3 separate regions of the Homo sapiens genome follow, and all the other regions are linked to region 1. Evidence: promoter capture Hi-C in human tissues and cell types (Jung and others, 2019). All regions are on one chromosome and are shown on one strand. Each heading gives the region's core, a stretch centred on a gene start or on the middle of the fragment in contact. The rest is flanking DNA. Distances are from core to core; before and after follow the strand shown. Region 1 holds the start of TMA16 (translation machinery associated 16 homolog). Region 2 has its middle 240 kb from the start of MIR4454. Region 3 has its middle 390 kb from the start of MIR4454.

Region 1 (2,939 bases), core at 228-2,727:
AAAACCACTAATGAGGTTATATCAAAAAAAAATGACAGAGCCAGAAATGAGCCAATGAAAACAGGTTCATATGCCACTCTTTTGACTTCTATGCCAAAGCAACGTACTTCTACTATACAGCCTGATAAAAAGTGAAGCTCTGATAGTCAAGGACAACTACAGTCAAATACCAATCTATCTCCCCAATCACTCAAACACAATGAGATGTAATTGCTTTCATATTCCACTCTGAAAAGGGGAAAAAAACTAACACTATAAAGAGTTGGAAATCCCACAAGCAAAGTGACAAGCAAACACTGAATTTACACAAATGTGTACAATCTAAAGTACAAAATATGCGTCAGCAGTGGATCAAAATAAAGCACAAAAAACTCGCGAAACAACGAAAGAACCAGACTGTAAGACAAAAATGGCATACAATGAAAAGAGAAAAAAATGAAAAGAAACAAAGAGGCCACATTGTGGACACAATATCGTAACTTCTGACCAGATTATAAACTTTTAAAATTTTGCTTTTATTAAAAATTAATTGAAAAAAATTTATAAAGCATGTTTCTATGCAAGAATTACTCTCAAGAACACAACGATTACGTAAAAAATAGGCAAGAAACAACATACTGTTTCAAAATACAAATATATGTAGTAACTATAAAGAAAAGTAGTGAAATTATAAATACAAAACTTAGATAATGTTTGCTTCTTAAGGTTTCCTGAAAGTTCAAAGAAGGTAACACAGGGCTTTCAAAGGCTATGTTTTATTTCTTAAAACTACAAAATGGGTAAACGAGAATTCCTGAAACTGTTCATCTTTACACTTGAAATGTGCTTTAGTAACACTCTTTTGTATCTACTCAGTTTTTAATAAAAACAACAAAACTGCTTCAGTGCCCTGGAGCGAATGGGGGCGTAACGGCAGGATTCAGGGCACTAACGAGAGGTGAACGGACGCCGAGGAAGAGGCGACTAAGCCCACATACTGAGTCTACCCAGGCCAGAGAGGCAGAGGTGTGTAGGGCCAGCGATCTCAGAAGTTTTGCCAAACTCCTCGATGCGTTACAATGGAAAGGTGCCGGGTTTCCCCCAGGAAGTAGTGACTAGCGAGAAGTTAGGCACAAGGCAAAGAGGAGCAAGGCGACGTGTGAGCACTTCAGCACTCGGACGCGGAACTCTAAGGTCCAGGCGTTGGGCCTGGGACTCGCCTCCCAGAGGCTTCGCCCCGCACCCCGCACACTCCCTGAAAATAAACACTTTGCATCCTCCCCTCTCCTAGGTTCCCGAAACCGCACCCTCCCTCTCTGCCTGCTCAACAAGAGCCTTCCGGGGAACCAACCGAGCGGTTCGGGGGAGCAGGAGGGGGCCCACCATGGTGACGTCCTCGTGGCCACGGAGCAGCTCCGCACTCTAGACCCAGGTAATCTCACCAACCGCAGGAGCAGCAGCTCACAAGAGCACCCGGGCCGAATCCCACGTGGCGCCTGAGAAGCCCGCGCCGACCCAACCGGAACAGGAGAGGCGAGTGCGTTTCTCTAAAGCGTCCCCGTTAACTGAGACCGCGTCTTTTTCGCCCGTGTTGGGCTTTTAAGCTCTAGCCCAACGGACAGCCAGACCTGCGTGCTCGCCGGGAGCGGCGGAAGGGAGCTTGCGGCGGGAGGCTGAACTCTGCCTGGTGCTGAGTGCGAGGCTGGGGATTGGAGCCCGGGTGGAGACGCTACACGCTTCCGGCCCCAAGAGCGGAGCTTGCCCATCTGTCCCAGAGCACGACTCCAGAGCGCAGCAACCTCTTCAGACAAGAGGTTCCCTCTTGCGGGCTCCCGCATCTCAGGGGCTGGGACCCTCTCAAAAGGGCCGCTCGGTGTTGGCTCCCCGGAGCTCTTGCACGGCACAGGCTCCTGCCCTCCGCTTTTCCACGTACTAGATTACCTTGGGCAAGTCCTTTCCTGCACTGAGTCTTTTTTTGCCCTGCCCTGCCCTGCCCTGCCCTGCCCCGCCCCGCCCCTCTTCTCTTTCCTTTCTTTTCTTTTCTTCTTTCCCTCTTTCCCGCCTTCCCTCATTCCCTCTTTCTTTCTTCCTCCCGGGTTCAAGCGATTCTCCTGCCTCAGCCTCCCGAACAGCTGGAATTACAGGCCTCCGCCACCACGCCCGGCTAATTTTTTTTTTTTTTTTTTTTTTTTGTATTTTTAGTAGAGACGGGGTTTCGCCGTGTTGGCCAGGCTGGTCTCGAACTCCTGATCTCAGGTGATCCGTCCGCCTCGGCCTCCCAAAGTGCTGAGATTACAGGCCTGAGCCACCACGCCCGGCCGAGTCTTAGTTTCTTTATCCGGAAAGGCCACTTCCTCATATTCAAGGCCTCTGCCAACCCAGTTTTTGTTTTCTTCTCACAGCATGTGAGAGTCTTTGTTTCACCCATACATGTTAGAATTCCGTAGACAATGTAATCATTCAAAAACTATTTATTGAATGCCTACTGTGTGCCTGGTACTGGGGATACTCCAACAATATCCCTCACTCAGCTCATTTTCCAGGGGATGGAGGCATGTAAAAATATTATTTCAAATAATATAAGTACTCTAATAAAAATTAGCTGGCGGGGGCATGTAGAAAAGCTGTTTTACACATGGTGGTCTCTATAAAGTCCTCTTTTAGAAGTGATAATTGAGCAGAGACCGGAATTGTAAGAGAAAACTAGGCATGGGAAGAAGCTCCAGGCAGGGTGAAGCTGGTGTGCCTTGATATGTGTGTGCAGCTGTTAACAGTTGAGGGTAGTTGGCTAGGTCCTTGGCGTTTTGAACAAATAATTGGACAAAACACACAAATAAAGCAAGGCAGCGAAAGCAGAGATTTATTTTAAATGAAAGTACACTACTCCACTGCGTGGAAGCAGGCTGTGGCAAGCTGCTCAAAAGCACAGGTTGCAGAATTTTCTGGGGTTTAAATACCTT
Region 2 (2,700 bases), core at 151-2,650, 640 kb after region 1:
TGTTACTTTGCTGTTAAAATATGACATATTCCATCATCTGAATATACATTAAATGTATGTCACATGCCATTAAAATTCTGGATTCTGGGGCTAAAGCAGTGAATAAGGCTAAAACAAGTTCCCTGTCCTTAGTCCTTATGGCATTTCCATCTTAGTTTAAAACTGTTTAAATTTAAAGAGTCATCTCTAAGCCAGGTGTGCTAGTACAGACCTGTAATCCCAGCTACTCTGAAGGCTGAGGTAGGGTGGATTCCTTAAGCCCCCATGGAGACTGCAATGAGCTATAGACACGTCATTACACTTCAGCTTGGGTTACAGAGCAAGACCCCATCTCTATTTTTGGAAAAAGAGTAATTTCTTTATCTTCTTTGCTCTTAAGCTCATTATAAAGCTAAGTTTTAAAAAAAGCACTTGACTAGTAGCATACACTCAAATTTCCACGTGTATTTTGTTTCGTGGAAAATAACCAAAAGGTGAAGCAGGGATTCCCCTCTGAACACAAATGCATTTCTAATCATAGAAAAAAAGCAGAAAGAAATTTGGCCCTTGGATGAAAAATCAACATCCAGAAGACTGTCATTTCTAAGCTTTTCTGTTTTTGGATGTGCCAAAGGAGATTAGGCAATGGGTTTTAAAGTATAGACTACAGAGAACTGACTTACCATAAGAAAACAGGATCAATTCGAGGGTTTCTATTCCTTAAAGAGAAAGACCAAAAGTAGAAGAAAAGAAAAGAGAATAAGTAAATGAACAACATGACTGAGCAGCTGAAAGACCTTAAAGACATTAGATGTTAAATATTGAATTGTTGACATTTTTGTGATACAAATCAAGTATGAGCACTAAAATTTAGTAATGGTCTCTATACGTATAGTTCCTTTGAGTGAAAAAAAGTATTTGTGGGTATATGTGTATATATGTATGTATATCTATACACATATACATACTATATATGTATATCTATACACATATACATACTATATATGTATTTTTTCTCCCCAGAATAGAGTTGATATACATTTGATGTTAGAAGCATGATATATAGAGGAAAAAAGTAATTCAGCAAAGGCAATAAGCTTGAACAAAAGATGACCATGGGAATATCAGAACTCTCAGAAATCATAAGAATATAGACTATGAAAATAAACTTTATGTAGAGTATGGAATATGGGTTCTAATCAAATTTGCCTAGTTTTTTTTTAGGCAGTGTGAGCCCAGCTGATGCCTGACTTATACAGAGAACAATTACTGTAGTCTCGTCACTCTCTGCCACTTTTTAAAAGTTCAGTAATTATTAGTAGCAAGGAATTTTTTAAGAGACAGAGAGGAGAGAAACAGAGAGAGAGAGACTAATCTGTTAGAAAAATGATCTGACTACTACATCTGATACCTCAAAATTATTAGCCAACCTTCTATTCAATCAAATTATAAACTCGAGACACATTGTAAACTTACACTAATTCAAAATTATTTATAACTTTGGTCACTTTTATTTTCTACATATCTACTGAATTTTTAATGAAATCTTCATATCATGGTCCTAGATTTAGTCTTTACCACTTTCAATGCACTTGAATAACTGGTATTCTTGTTTTGCCTATGACACTTCTGAAATCACATGATTACTGCCAAAACATTGAAATTTAAAAAGAACAAAACTAGTTAGTTTATCTCTGATGATCATGTTACTTCTCTTTCCAACAGTTTTCAATATTTCCCATTGTTTTCAGGATAATGTTCAAAGTGCTAAGCAGGACAATTCTAGACTTTCGAGATTTGTCCTTTGTTTGCCTTTCTAATGTGATCTGCCACGTTCTAGCAGGTAGCATATAGTCACGCATAATGAGCTTCCAAGAGTCCAAGCACACCACAGTCTATAGCATCGCCATAGATTTATATATAATTTTCCCATTTTTTCTGTCTGGCTGATGCTAAACCATTTTTAAGAGTAACTCTCATGTTACATTTGAGGCTTAGCTAAATTTCACAGTACTACGTGTCAAAATAACAGATCTTAAATCTATGAAGACCAATAGTCTATGATATTTAATTTTAGGAGCTTCATAAAACAATTTGTTAAAGATAAAACTCATAAGAATAATATGATAAATAAGTGAAGATTTTGGTATTACTAAGGGAATTCTGAAAATAAACCTAAATAGGATAAACAGGAGCAGAATTTAGTTACGTGCACATTAAGTTACACTGGCACAAGAGTTTGGTAAAATATTTGTCAAAACTTATGTAAAATACTTCAATAACTTTGTGAAGTTGTGCCAAATTCTAGACAAATAGATTTTGAGTTGAGAACAACCAACAACTATATTTAATCAATGTGATACGGAGGATTCTTTTTTTCCCCACCTGAGCATTCAGGAACAATCTTATTTGAAAAAACACTTTCAACTCTATTACAAGACTGGGCACGGTAGCTCATGCCTGTAATCCCAGCATTTTGGGAGGCCGAGGTAGGTGGATCACTTGAGGTCAGGAGTTCAACACCAACCTGGCCAACCTGGTGAAACCCCATCTCTACTAAAAATACAAAAAATCAGCTGGGCATGGTGGTGGGCACCTGTAATCCCAGCTACTTGGCAGGCTGAGGCAGGAGAATTGCTTGAACCCAAGAGGCAGAGGTTGCAATGAGCTGAGGTTGCGCCATTGCACTCCAGCCTAGGCGACAAGAGCAAAACTCTGTCT
Region 3 (2,700 bases), core at 107-2,606, 790 kb after region 1:
AGTCTCTAATTCAGGGGGTTTAATTTTGCCTTCCCAAGTCTCCTGTGGATATGTCTGCTAAGTAAAAAACTAAGTCAACATGTAAAACCATACCTGTAAGTTTATCTGGAAAAGGAAGTATCTGTCCTCCAGACTTTAGCGTGTATTAAAGATTGCTGTACAGGGTTGAAATAGCATTCTGTGACTCTATTTTTAACATCTGCACCAAATCCCAAGGCAGTCAAGTCATGGTACAATAAAGGACACTGCATCCACTGACAGCTACAGCTATAGTGCAAGCAGTGGAGGCAGGGGATGCCAGGGGAGGTCAAATGACCAGAAGAATATTGTGTTTTGGGGAAAGAGAAATGGAAAAGTGAGAGAATAAAGAATTAGTAAAATATATTTAATGAGTCCAAATTATCCATTGCAAAAAAGAGAAAGTCTTATATTTTTCTTTCAGCCTTTCTTCCTTCTTAACCCTCTTTCTTTTATCCTATTTTTATTCTTTTTCTTTTATTCTTATCTTTTTTTCTTAAATAATAATACATTCACTAGTCCCTCTATGTGAACTTACACATTTTAAAAGCTCTACTATAATGTTTCAAATGATTCATTGAACAAGCCACATGCAAAGAAGGATAAATTTCTAATTAGTTACTGAGTAATGCTAAACCAGTAGTAAACTTTAGTCTTAATCATTCTGTTTATTTGCTTGTTTGTTTGTTTTACTTTTTAGTGTTTTACATCACATTAAACTCTTTGTGGCTTCCTTGGATAATGGTTACCCATTGGGACTTCATGAAATACTGGCTTACTGACTGTTTCTTTTCCCAGTTTTATTGAAGTATAATTGACAAACAAAACTTATATACATTTAATGCACATGATGTGATATTTTGATATACATGTACATTGTGAAATAATCACCACAATCAAGCTAATTAATATATCCATGACCTCACAGTTATGTGTGTGTGGTGAGAACACATAAGATTTACTGCCTTGGCAAATTTCAAGTCTACACTACAGTAATGTTAACTATAATCACTATGCTATACATTAGATCTCCAGAACTCATTCATCCTATATAATTGAAATTTTGTACCCTTTGACAAAAATTTTCACACTTTCCTAACCCTCCAACCCTTGGAAACCACAATTCTACTCTGCTTCTATGAACTCATCCCTTTTAGATTTCACATATAAATAAGATAATGCAATATTTGTCTTTCTGTACCTGGCTTATTTCACTTAATATAATGTCCTCCAAGTTCATTCATGTTGTCTCAAATAACAGTATTTTCATCTTTCTTAAGATGGAATAATATTCCGTTGTGTCTGTGTGTGTGTGTACACACACACCAAAATTCCCTTTCTTTCATCTGTTGGTGAGCACTTAGGTTGGTTTCATAACTTATCTGTTTTGATTAATGCTGCAATGAACATGGGAGTGCAGATATCTCTTCAAGACACTGATTTTAATTCCTTTGAATATATACAAAAATGGGATTGCTGGATTATAAGATAGCTCTACTTTTCTATTTTTAATTTTTCAGAAAACCCTCATACTATTTTCCATCATGGCTGTACCAACTGACATTTTCAGTAACAGTAGACAGGAATTCCCTTTTCTCCGCATTCTTGCCAACACTTATCTTTCATCTTTTTGATAAAAGCCACTCTAACAGGTGTGAGGTAATATTGTGGTATTGATTTGCATTTTCCTAATGATTAATGAGGTTGAAATTCTTAAAAAATATACCTATTGGCCATTTGTATGTCTTTCTGAAAAATGTCTACTCATATCCTTTGCCCACTTTGGAATCAAGTTATTTATTTTGTTGCAATTGAGTTGTTTGAGTTCCTTATTTGTTGTGAATTCCAATCCCTTATTAGATATATGGTTTACAAATATTTTTTCCCATCACTTAAGTTGTCTCTTCATTCTGCTCATTTTTTCCTTTGCAATTCAGATGTAGCCTATTTGTCTATTTTTGCTTCTGTTTTCTATGTTTTGAGTGTCTTATTCAAAAAAATCATTGCCCAGAACAATGTCACAGAGCTTTTCTCCCACGTTTTCTTCTAGTAGTTTTATAAATTCAGTTCTTACATGTAAGTCTTTAATCTATCTTGAGTTGATTTTTGTTGTGTGAGATAAGGGTTCAGTCTCTTTCTTTTGTGTGTGGATATCCAGTTTTACCATCAACATTTGTGGAAGAGACTGTCCTTTCCCCACTATATGTTCTTGGAATCTTTGCCTGAGACCAACTGAACATAAATATGTGGATTTGCTTCTCAGCTTAATATTTTGTTTCATTGGTCTACATGTATGTTTTTATGCCTGTAATATATTGTTTTGACTACTATAGCTTTGGAGTTTATCTTGAAATCAGGTAGTGCAGTGCCTGCAGCTTTGGTCTTGTTCAAGATTTCTTTGGTTATTCAAGGTCTTTTGTGGTTTCATATTGGCTTTTATCTTGAAAGTTTCTAATATCTACTCTTTCTTTTCTTTCTTTCTTATGTTTTGTCTTTTCTTTTCCTTTATTCATTTTAGAGAAATTCTGAAAATTAGAAAAGGGAAAGCTCTTCTTTAGTATACCAAGAGATACCTGAAAAAGTCATTCAACTGCTGAGGATCTTCAATTAAGAAAAGCATCATAGTCTTTAGTAAAGGCTCTCTAATGCAAATGATTGTGGTCTTATTCTGAATAATCAAAT

Evidence for each region. The method cuts DNA at HindIII sites, captures the fragments that hold promoters and counts their contacts. A contact is called where the count stands out against the background at its distance.
Region 2: a contact is called between a fragment that was not itself captured here and the fragment with the promoter of TMA16 in region 1, in 1 of the 25 tissues and cell types used here (dorsolateral prefrontal cortex).
Region 3: a contact is called between a fragment that was not itself captured here and the fragment with the promoter of TMA16 in region 1, in 1 of the 25 tissues and cell types used here (lymphoblastoid cells).

The regions. Positions count from the first base shown.
Region 1 is chr4:163,493,228-163,496,166 of GRCh38, reverse strand. TMA16 (translation machinery associated 16 homolog) reads right to left here and starts at 1,477. Exons shown (of 7, transcript NM_018352.3): 1 at 1,363-1,477. The coding sequence starts at 1,365. It overlaps LOC124900805 (a long non-coding RNA gene), which reads left to right and starts at 943. Exons shown (of 2, transcript XR_007058354.1): 1 at 943-1,005; 2 at 1,271-2,939. RefSeq lists enhancers at 901-1,050, 1,081-1,220, 684-1,586 and a cis regulatory region at 2,868-2,939. The HindIII fragment of the contact is 18,907 bases long and covers 1-2,939 here.
Region 2 is chr4:162,855,007-162,857,706 of GRCh38, reverse strand. No RefSeq gene overlaps it. Among named protein-coding and RNA genes, the nearest start is that of MIR4454, 240 kb to the left of the region's middle. The HindIII fragment of the contact is 4,061 bases long and covers 1-2,700 here.
Region 3 is chr4:162,702,847-162,705,546 of GRCh38, reverse strand. No RefSeq gene overlaps it. Among named protein-coding and RNA genes, the nearest start is that of MIR4454, 390 kb to the left of the region's middle. The HindIII fragment of the contact is 6,712 bases long and covers 1-2,700 here.